Regions from separate parts of the Homo sapiens genome. Here region 1 is linked to region 2. The links are contacts of gene promoters, found by promoter capture Hi-C in blood cells and fetal thymus (Javierre and others, 2016). All regions are on one chromosome and are shown on one strand. The core of a region is centred on a gene start or on the middle of the fragment in contact, and the rest is flanking DNA. Distances in the headings are between cores, read along the strand shown. Region 1 overlaps BID (BH3 interacting domain death agonist). Region 2 holds the start of ATP6V1E1 (ATPase H+ transporting V1 subunit E1).

What was found. The method cuts DNA at HindIII sites, captures the fragments that hold promoters and counts their contacts. A CHiCAGO score of 5 or more calls a contact.
Region 1: a fragment that was not itself captured here is called in contact with the fragment with the promoter of ATP6V1E1 in region 2 in 1 of 17 cell types (neutrophils); the score reaches 6.5 in neutrophils.

What each region holds. Positions count from the first base shown.
Region 1 is chr22:17,767,422-17,771,211 of GRCh38, forward strand. The region is part of intron 1 of BID (BH3 interacting domain death agonist); the gene reads right to left. Among named protein-coding and RNA genes, the nearest start is that of MIR3198-1, 5.1 kb to the left of the region's middle. RefSeq lists enhancers at 903-952, 973-1,022, 1,093-1,152. The HindIII fragment of the contact is 6,348 bases long and covers 1-3,790 here.
Region 2 is chr22:17,627,124-17,630,616 of GRCh38, forward strand. It overlaps ATP6V1E1 (ATPase H+ transporting V1 subunit E1), which reads right to left and starts at 1,626. Exons shown (of 9, transcript NM_001696.4): 1 at 1,480-1,626. The coding sequence starts at 1,512. It also overlaps a transcript of BCL2L13 not described here. RefSeq lists enhancers at 1,321-1,470, 1,551-1,640, 1,582-1,751. The HindIII fragment of the contact is 8,319 bases long and covers 1-3,493 here.

The sequences.
Region 1 (3,790 bases), core at 1-2,500, 140 kb after region 2:
GGCCTTTCTGAATTACAACTTCAGCCCCAGGGCAAGAGTAAACACAGAAACTGGAAAAGTCCCTGGACCAGGTGTCAAAGAGGTATCCTTCCCGGTGGACACAAAATTCTGAATTGAATTGAGCTCAAAAGAGGCTAAGGACACAGAGAACGAAGTCTGATCATCCAGATTCTCCGTATCTGACCACAGAGAACTGATCTCTGTCATCCGCCTACAAAGATGAGCAAAACAATATGACCACAAACCAATGCTCAATCACTGATGCCACCAAGCCATGGGTAAGCCCGAAACCAACAGAACACAGAGTCAGGGGCAGGGGAAACAGAGACACGGAGAGAAAACGGAGAAACAGCGTCCGCGAAGTGAAAAGTTCCATTGCTGCTTGAATTTGCCTCTGGTAGCCAAGAAAAGGCCAGCACTGTGGGAGGCCAAGGCAGGAGGATCACTTGAGCCCAGGAGTTTGAGGCAAACCTGGGCAACACAGTGAGACCCTGTCTCTACAAAAAATACAAAATAAAAAATGAAGGAAACATTGACACCTACTGTAACATGAGTTACAGCAGTTAACATGAGTTGAAAATATGCTACATGAAAGAAGTCAGTCACAAAAGACCACGTAGTGTGTGATTCCATTAGTATGAAATGTCCTAAATGTGCAACTCCATAGACAGAAAGATTAGGGCTGCCAGGGCTGCGGAGCAGCCACCAGTGTGTCTGGAGCTTCTCTTTGGGTTACTGAAATGTTCTGCCTGTAGGCGGTGGTGACGGTCGCACACCGTGTATATACTAAGCCACTGAACTGTGCCCTTTGATGGGTGAATTTTATGGCATGTGCAGTATGTCTCAATCAAACGGTTTTTGAAAAGGCAGCCAGCAGGAGGAGACATGAGGAGGCAAGAGCCTCTTCAGGTGACTGGGGCCCCCTCCCAGAGGTCGGAGGCTCCACCACAGGCCCCAGAAGTCAGTGGACCCCTATGCTCCAGGTCTTTGTGACCCGGGAGTCCTGCCTCCCTCCCCTGCCCAGGCCCTGGGCTTCTGGGTGGGGCATGGTGGATGGCAGGGGAAGGCAGGTGTCCCTCAGCTACTCCAGAATCCCTGGTGAGCCTCTGGTGAGCCTCCTGGTCCGCCCCTCCCTGAACTCTCTGTAGACTCTGTCATAAAGAACAAGGCTGGGCCGCAAGGTGGCTCACGCCTGTAATCCCAGCACTTTGGGAGGCCGAGGCGGGTGGATCACGAGGTCAGGAGATCGAGACCATCCTGGCTAACACGGTGAAACCCCTTCTCTACTAAAAATAGAAAAAATTAGCCGGCATGGTGGTGGGCACCTGTAGTCCCAGCTACTCGGGAAGCTGAGGCAGGAGAATGGCGTGAAACTCGGGAGGCAGAGCTTGCAGTGAGCCGAGATCGCGCCACTGCACTCTAGCCTGGGCGACAGAGCGAGACTCCGTCTCAAAAAAAAAAAAAAAAAAAATTAGCCGGGCGTGGTGGTGGGCGCCTGTAGTCCCAGCTACTCAGGAGGCTGAGACAGGAGAATGGCGTGAACCTGGGAGGCGGAGCTTGCAGGGAGCAGAGATCGTGCCACTGCACTCCAGCCTGGGCGACAGAGTGAGACTCGTCTCAAAAATAAATAAATAAATAAATAAATAAATAAATAATAACTAAATAAATAAAGAACAAGGCTTTCACCACATCCCAGGCAGAGTCCAAGTCAGGGCAGAGCCTCACAGAGCACAGCAGGGCCTGTGCCGTGCCAACGCCATGCCCCTGCCTGGCAGAAATGCCACCCAGCCCCTGGCAGAAACGCCTCCCCTCTCCTATGGAGGGGCTGATGACCCAGGAGCGGCTGGCTGCTGGTGTGAGTACACGGGTGACCCTTCCACAAAGGCCCCTAGCTGGGCTCCCTGCTCAGTTGGCCGGGTTTGGGGCTGGATGTCTGCAGGGGTCCTCAGGGATACCCAGAGGGAGAAACAAGGCTTTTGGGGAAATGGTGACACCTGGGGCCAGGTTTCTCACAGCCAGGCCCCATCTCTCCCTGCCTGGATTTCAGGGGAAGTGGGGCTTGGGTAAACAGGAACGGACGTGGCCATCAGGCCGGAAGGGTGTGTGGGCCACAGAGAAGCACCCTGAGGCTGTGCTGTCATCCAGAGTGCCACCCCGCTTTTCCAGGGCACAGCAAGGAAGTGCCTGCTGGAAGGATCCTGGGGACAGTTGTTAAGGCAATTTTATCTTCTCATAGCATGCCTGCCTCAGTTCCGCAGCCAGGACGGTGCCTTACTGACTCCACACACAGAGGCAGCTGGGTCCAGGAGGCAGCCATCCCAAACGCAGTGACCTCCAGCACCCAAAGCTCAGAGTTCCCAGCTGAACCCAGGAGGCACCCACCTTCCTGTCTCTAGGCAGATGCCAGCTGGTGCAGGAGCCACTCCCAGTCCCAATACCAGGCCTGGTCACGTGGTGCCCCGCCAGGCTTGGGGGTGTGCACTTGCCCGCTGGCCTCCGGTGCCCTCAGGCCTAGCCTCATTGTCACAGGAACGGAGCTCCTCGGGGATGGCCACCTTCCTGGACTTACCCCCAGGAGGGACACGCTGCTGCCTCCCAGGGCCCTTCGTGCCACTGGCCCCTTTCTTTCCACCCCCATATGCTACCCCTGCCTACTCCCTTCCCTGGCCCTGGGTTGCCACTCCTGTCCTGTTCTCCTGCTGTCCCCACCCCAGCCCTGACCCCAGATGGCTCTCCCTACAAAAACACCAGAACCCCAGAGAAGCTCAATCCCCCAAGTCCATCTGCATTTTAAGAAGCCCTCACGCACTCCCAGCCCAGAGAGGGAAGCTGTAAAGGTGGACAGGTCATGTCGGGCTTTGAACCTGCAATGTGATCTCACCTTCCCCGTCTGTAAAAGGGGACACTCCCTGCCTTGTGGGATCACATGCAGTATCAGAAAAAGCACCTGACATGTGACATCCACTTACAAAGGGTTTTCCCTTCTCTTTGGTTTTGGGGGAGAATGGGAGAGGCCCAAGCAGAAGCTCCTGGAACACCGCCCATCCCGGACCCAGGGTTGTAGTCACCTGAACACTCACCCAGACAAGGGAAACTTCACAGAATGAATGTGAGGAATAAAATGAGACATTCAGTTACACAAATTAAACCAAACCCAGATGCAGAGGTGCCCCATAACAGAAATAGAGCAACTACTGCCAGCCTTGGATGAAAGCTCTTGGCCAAGGGCCGTGACGGCGGCGGGGAGGTTCAGCAGCTGTCCCCAAGCACACAGGACATTTGGCACCTCCAAGCCCAGCCTGTCCCACCAGGCCACGGCACACTTTCCTTCCTCTGAAGAAAGGGGGTTTGTTAAGCCAACGAGGAGGGAAGCCAAGGACTGCCCCCGGCGCCAGCATGGCTATGAGCATAGAAGCGGGCTGAGCCACAGGCTGGGGGATCCCATGCAGACCAGGCAAAGCCCAGGCAGGATGCTCTGCAGAAAGTTCCCTGGTGATCCGGACCCGGAGCCAGACTGAGCCGCAGCCCCAGAAGACAGGTATCTCCTCCCCTGGGGCCACAGCAGCCACAGAGGCCACCCACGGCTTCCACTAGGACAGTGTGTCTTTCCAGTTACTCTACGTACCTAAAAGTGACCAGCCCCCTTTCAGGTCTGGTCTATGATCCAGATGGTGATCTTTCCCCCACTTTTTTTTTGAGACGGAGTCTCGCTCTGTCCCCCAGGCTGGAGTGCAGTGGCGCGATCTCGGCTCACTGCAAGCTCCACCTCCCGGGTTCACACCATTCTCCT
Region 2 (3,493 bases), core at 376-2,875:
GGACTACAGGCGCACCCCACTAGGCCCAGACAATCTTTTTTTTTTTATTTTTTTGAGAGGGAGTCTCGCTCTGCCGCCCAGGGTCGCTCGGCCTCCCGGGTTCACGCCATTCTCCTGCCTCAGCCTCCCGAGTAGCTGGGACTACAGGCGCCCGCCACCATGCCCGGCTAATTTTTTGTATTTTTAATAGAGATGGGGTTTCACCATGCTGGCCAGGCTCGTCTCGAACTCCTGACCTCAGGTGATCCGCCCTCCTCAGCCTCCCAAAGTGCTGGTATTACAGACGTGAGCCACCATGCCCGGCCCCAGCCTGTATCTCACAAATGTTAACACACACATTAGTGGGAGACCAATCATTACAATCCATTATGATAGAGGGGACTTCCCCAAAATGAAGATTAACAGTACATACAGGCCTGGCGCGTTGGCTCATGCCTGTAATCCCAGCACTTTGGGAGGCCCAGGTGGGAAGATCACCTGAGGTCAGGAGTTCAAGACCAGCCAGGCCAATATGGTGAGACCCTGCCTCTACTAAAAAAAATACAAAAATTAGCCGGGCTTGGGGCGCGAGTCTGTAATCCCAGCTTCTAGGGAGGCTGAGGCAGGAGAATCACTTGAACCCGGGGCGGAGGTTGCAGTGAGCCGAGATCGCGCCCTTGCACTCCAGCCTGGGCGACAGAGTGAGACTCCGTCTCAAAAAAAAAAAAAAGAAAAAAAGAAAAAAACACAGTTCATAAAGTGAACGACCTTGTCAAAACACTGGTTGGAAGCAGGTCTCTTCCCTCCGCACTGTTTCCTATCATATAGCCTTAAGCATTTCCCTCAGGGTTAAAAAAAAAAAAAGTGACAAGGCTGGTTTGTTTTTTTTTTTTCTTTTTCCAGAGGGAGTCTCGCCCTGTCGCCCATGCTGGAGTGCAAAGGCGCGATCTCGGCTAACTGCAACCTCCGCCTCCGGGTTCAGCTTCCCGAGTAGCTGGGATTACAGGCGCGCGCCACCACGTCCGGCTAATTTTCTATTTTTAGTAGAGACCGGGGTTTCACCATTTTGGCCAGGCTAGTCTCGGACTCCTGACCTCAGGTGATCCGGCCGCCTCGGCCTCCCAAAATACTGGGATTACAGGCGTGAGCCACTGCCCCTGGCCACAAGGCTGTTTTCAATCCTTGCACAGATCTCTGTCCGACTAGGCACAGTGAATACCCTTGGAAAACAGGGAATGCTGAGGTGGGAGGCAAAGAGCCAGGGCGTTCAAGAAGGCAGCGCGCAGGCAAGCGGGCAGTGCCCAAGACCCGAGCAAAAGTCACATGAGCTGCGGGGCAAATCTCCGTCCTCAGGCCGACCTCTTGGATCTGGTGACTTGGAGCAAGGGACCTTCCTGCGGCATCTGGGCGGCTCAAGGCCCGCGGCCTTCCCTAGGCGGGCTCCAGCCCACTCCCCGGGACTGCCGCCGCGGCTTCGTAAGACCCAACCAAGCCCCTCACCTGCTTTTGCACGTCAGCATCGCTGAGAGCCATGGCGAGAGCAATGCTAGGCCGGTGAACAGTAGGCTCGAGTTTAGGTTTGAAAGGTGAGGTGAGAGAAATCGGCAAAGGGAACCCCTGCGCAGATCTCGGGTTCCTTTACTTTATAACCGCGGGTTCCGGTTCCTGCCAGGTGACTGCACAGTTCATCCTCATGACCCTTCTCAGCCAATGGGAAGAGAGCGACGCCCAGGAAGTCCCGCCCTGTCCCGGCCTGTGGGCGCGTCCTCGGGTCCTTCTACGTCGCTGACTCGTGACCTGACCGGTATTTTTTTCCTAAACTGGGATCTTGGGTAGGAGGAAGAAAAGATAAGGAGTTCCTCTATCTGAAATTAGTCGGGCTGTTTTGAGGAGTACTGGTTAGGTATATTGGAGAATGTGCCTTTATTGGAATTTTTCGCATAATTACACAGGGTTATGGGCTTAGGGGTACATGATTGTTGGCCGGGCGTGGTGGCTCACGCCTGCAATCCGGAGACTTTGGGAGACCAAGGCGGGTGTATCGCTTGACCTCAAGTTCGAGACCAGGCTGGACAACATAGAGGAACCCCGTCTCTACCAAAAGAAAAAAAAAAGGGGGATACATGATTTCTGACTATTCATGTCAACCTTGATTACCTGAATAAAGTGTAGGGTTTGTAGGTTTCTCCACTCTGAAGTTACCTTTTTTAACCCCCTTTCCATACTGTAGTCTTAGGAAGGAAGCCACTATACAAAGCCCACACCTAGGGAGTGGGAAGCTATGCTCAACTTCCTTATTAGGGTGGAGCAGCTACATAATTTATTTGGAACTTTTCTGAGATAGCCTATATATTTTTCAAAAGCCTTCCCAGGTCCCATTTAGAGGAATATTAGGACAGAAATCCCCCCAGGCTCATTTGTTTTTATTTGGATTTACCTCAAGCCCGTTTTTTTCCCCAAAATCCCAAAGGCAAAAACTTTTGAAAATTCCTTTATCTTTAGGATAGACTGACTCCTAATAGTAGAATAAGAGGTCAAATGGTACACCCACTTTTTTCTTTTTACTGTGCTATGGTTACCCACCATTTTTATTAGCTTTTTATCTTGAAGAAATTTGAGATATAGTAACTTGTAAGAATACTGCATTGACCTCCCTTCACCTAGATTCAACAATTGTTAACATTTTGCTACATGTACATTAACACTTTATTTTCATACACACACACACACACACACACACACACACTTCCTATTTTAGTGTGTCATAAGAACGAGGATGTAGCAAATTCAGGAAATTTAGTTTACTAGGCTGAACATTAATTTCCTTTGTCCCGGGCCAGGCGCGGTGTCTCACGCCTGTAATCCCACCACTTTGGGAGGCTGAGGTGGGCAGATCACCTGAGGTCGGGATTTCGAGACCAGCCTGACCAACATGGAGAAACCCCAGTCTCTACTAAAAATACAAAATTAACAGGCGTGGTGGTGTGTGCCTGTAATCCCAGCCACTGGAGAGGCTGAGGCAGGAGAATTGCTTCAACCCAGGAGCAGAGGTTGCGGTGAGCCAAGATCGTGCCACTGCACTCCAGCCTGGGCAATAAGAGTGAGACTCCGTCTCAAAAAAACAAAAAAAAAAAAAACAAATTCCTTTGTCCCATCAATCCATCAATGTACTTTATAACCCTTTCTTTTTTTTTTGAGACAGAGTCTCACTCTGTCGCCCAGGCTGCAGTGCAACGGCATGGTGTCAGCTCACTACAACCTCTGCCTCCCGGGATCAAGTGATTCTCCTCCCTCAGCCTCCCAAGCAGCTGGGATTACAGGTGCCTGCCACCATGCATGGCTAATTTTTGTATTTTTAGTAGAGATGAGGTTTCACTGTGTTGGCCAGGCTGGTCTTGAACTGCTGACCTCGTGATCCACCTGCCTCGGCCTCCGAGAGTGCTGGGATTACAGGTGTGAGCCACTGCACCCGGCCTTCTTTTTCTTTTCTTTTTTTTTTTTTTTTTGAGATGGA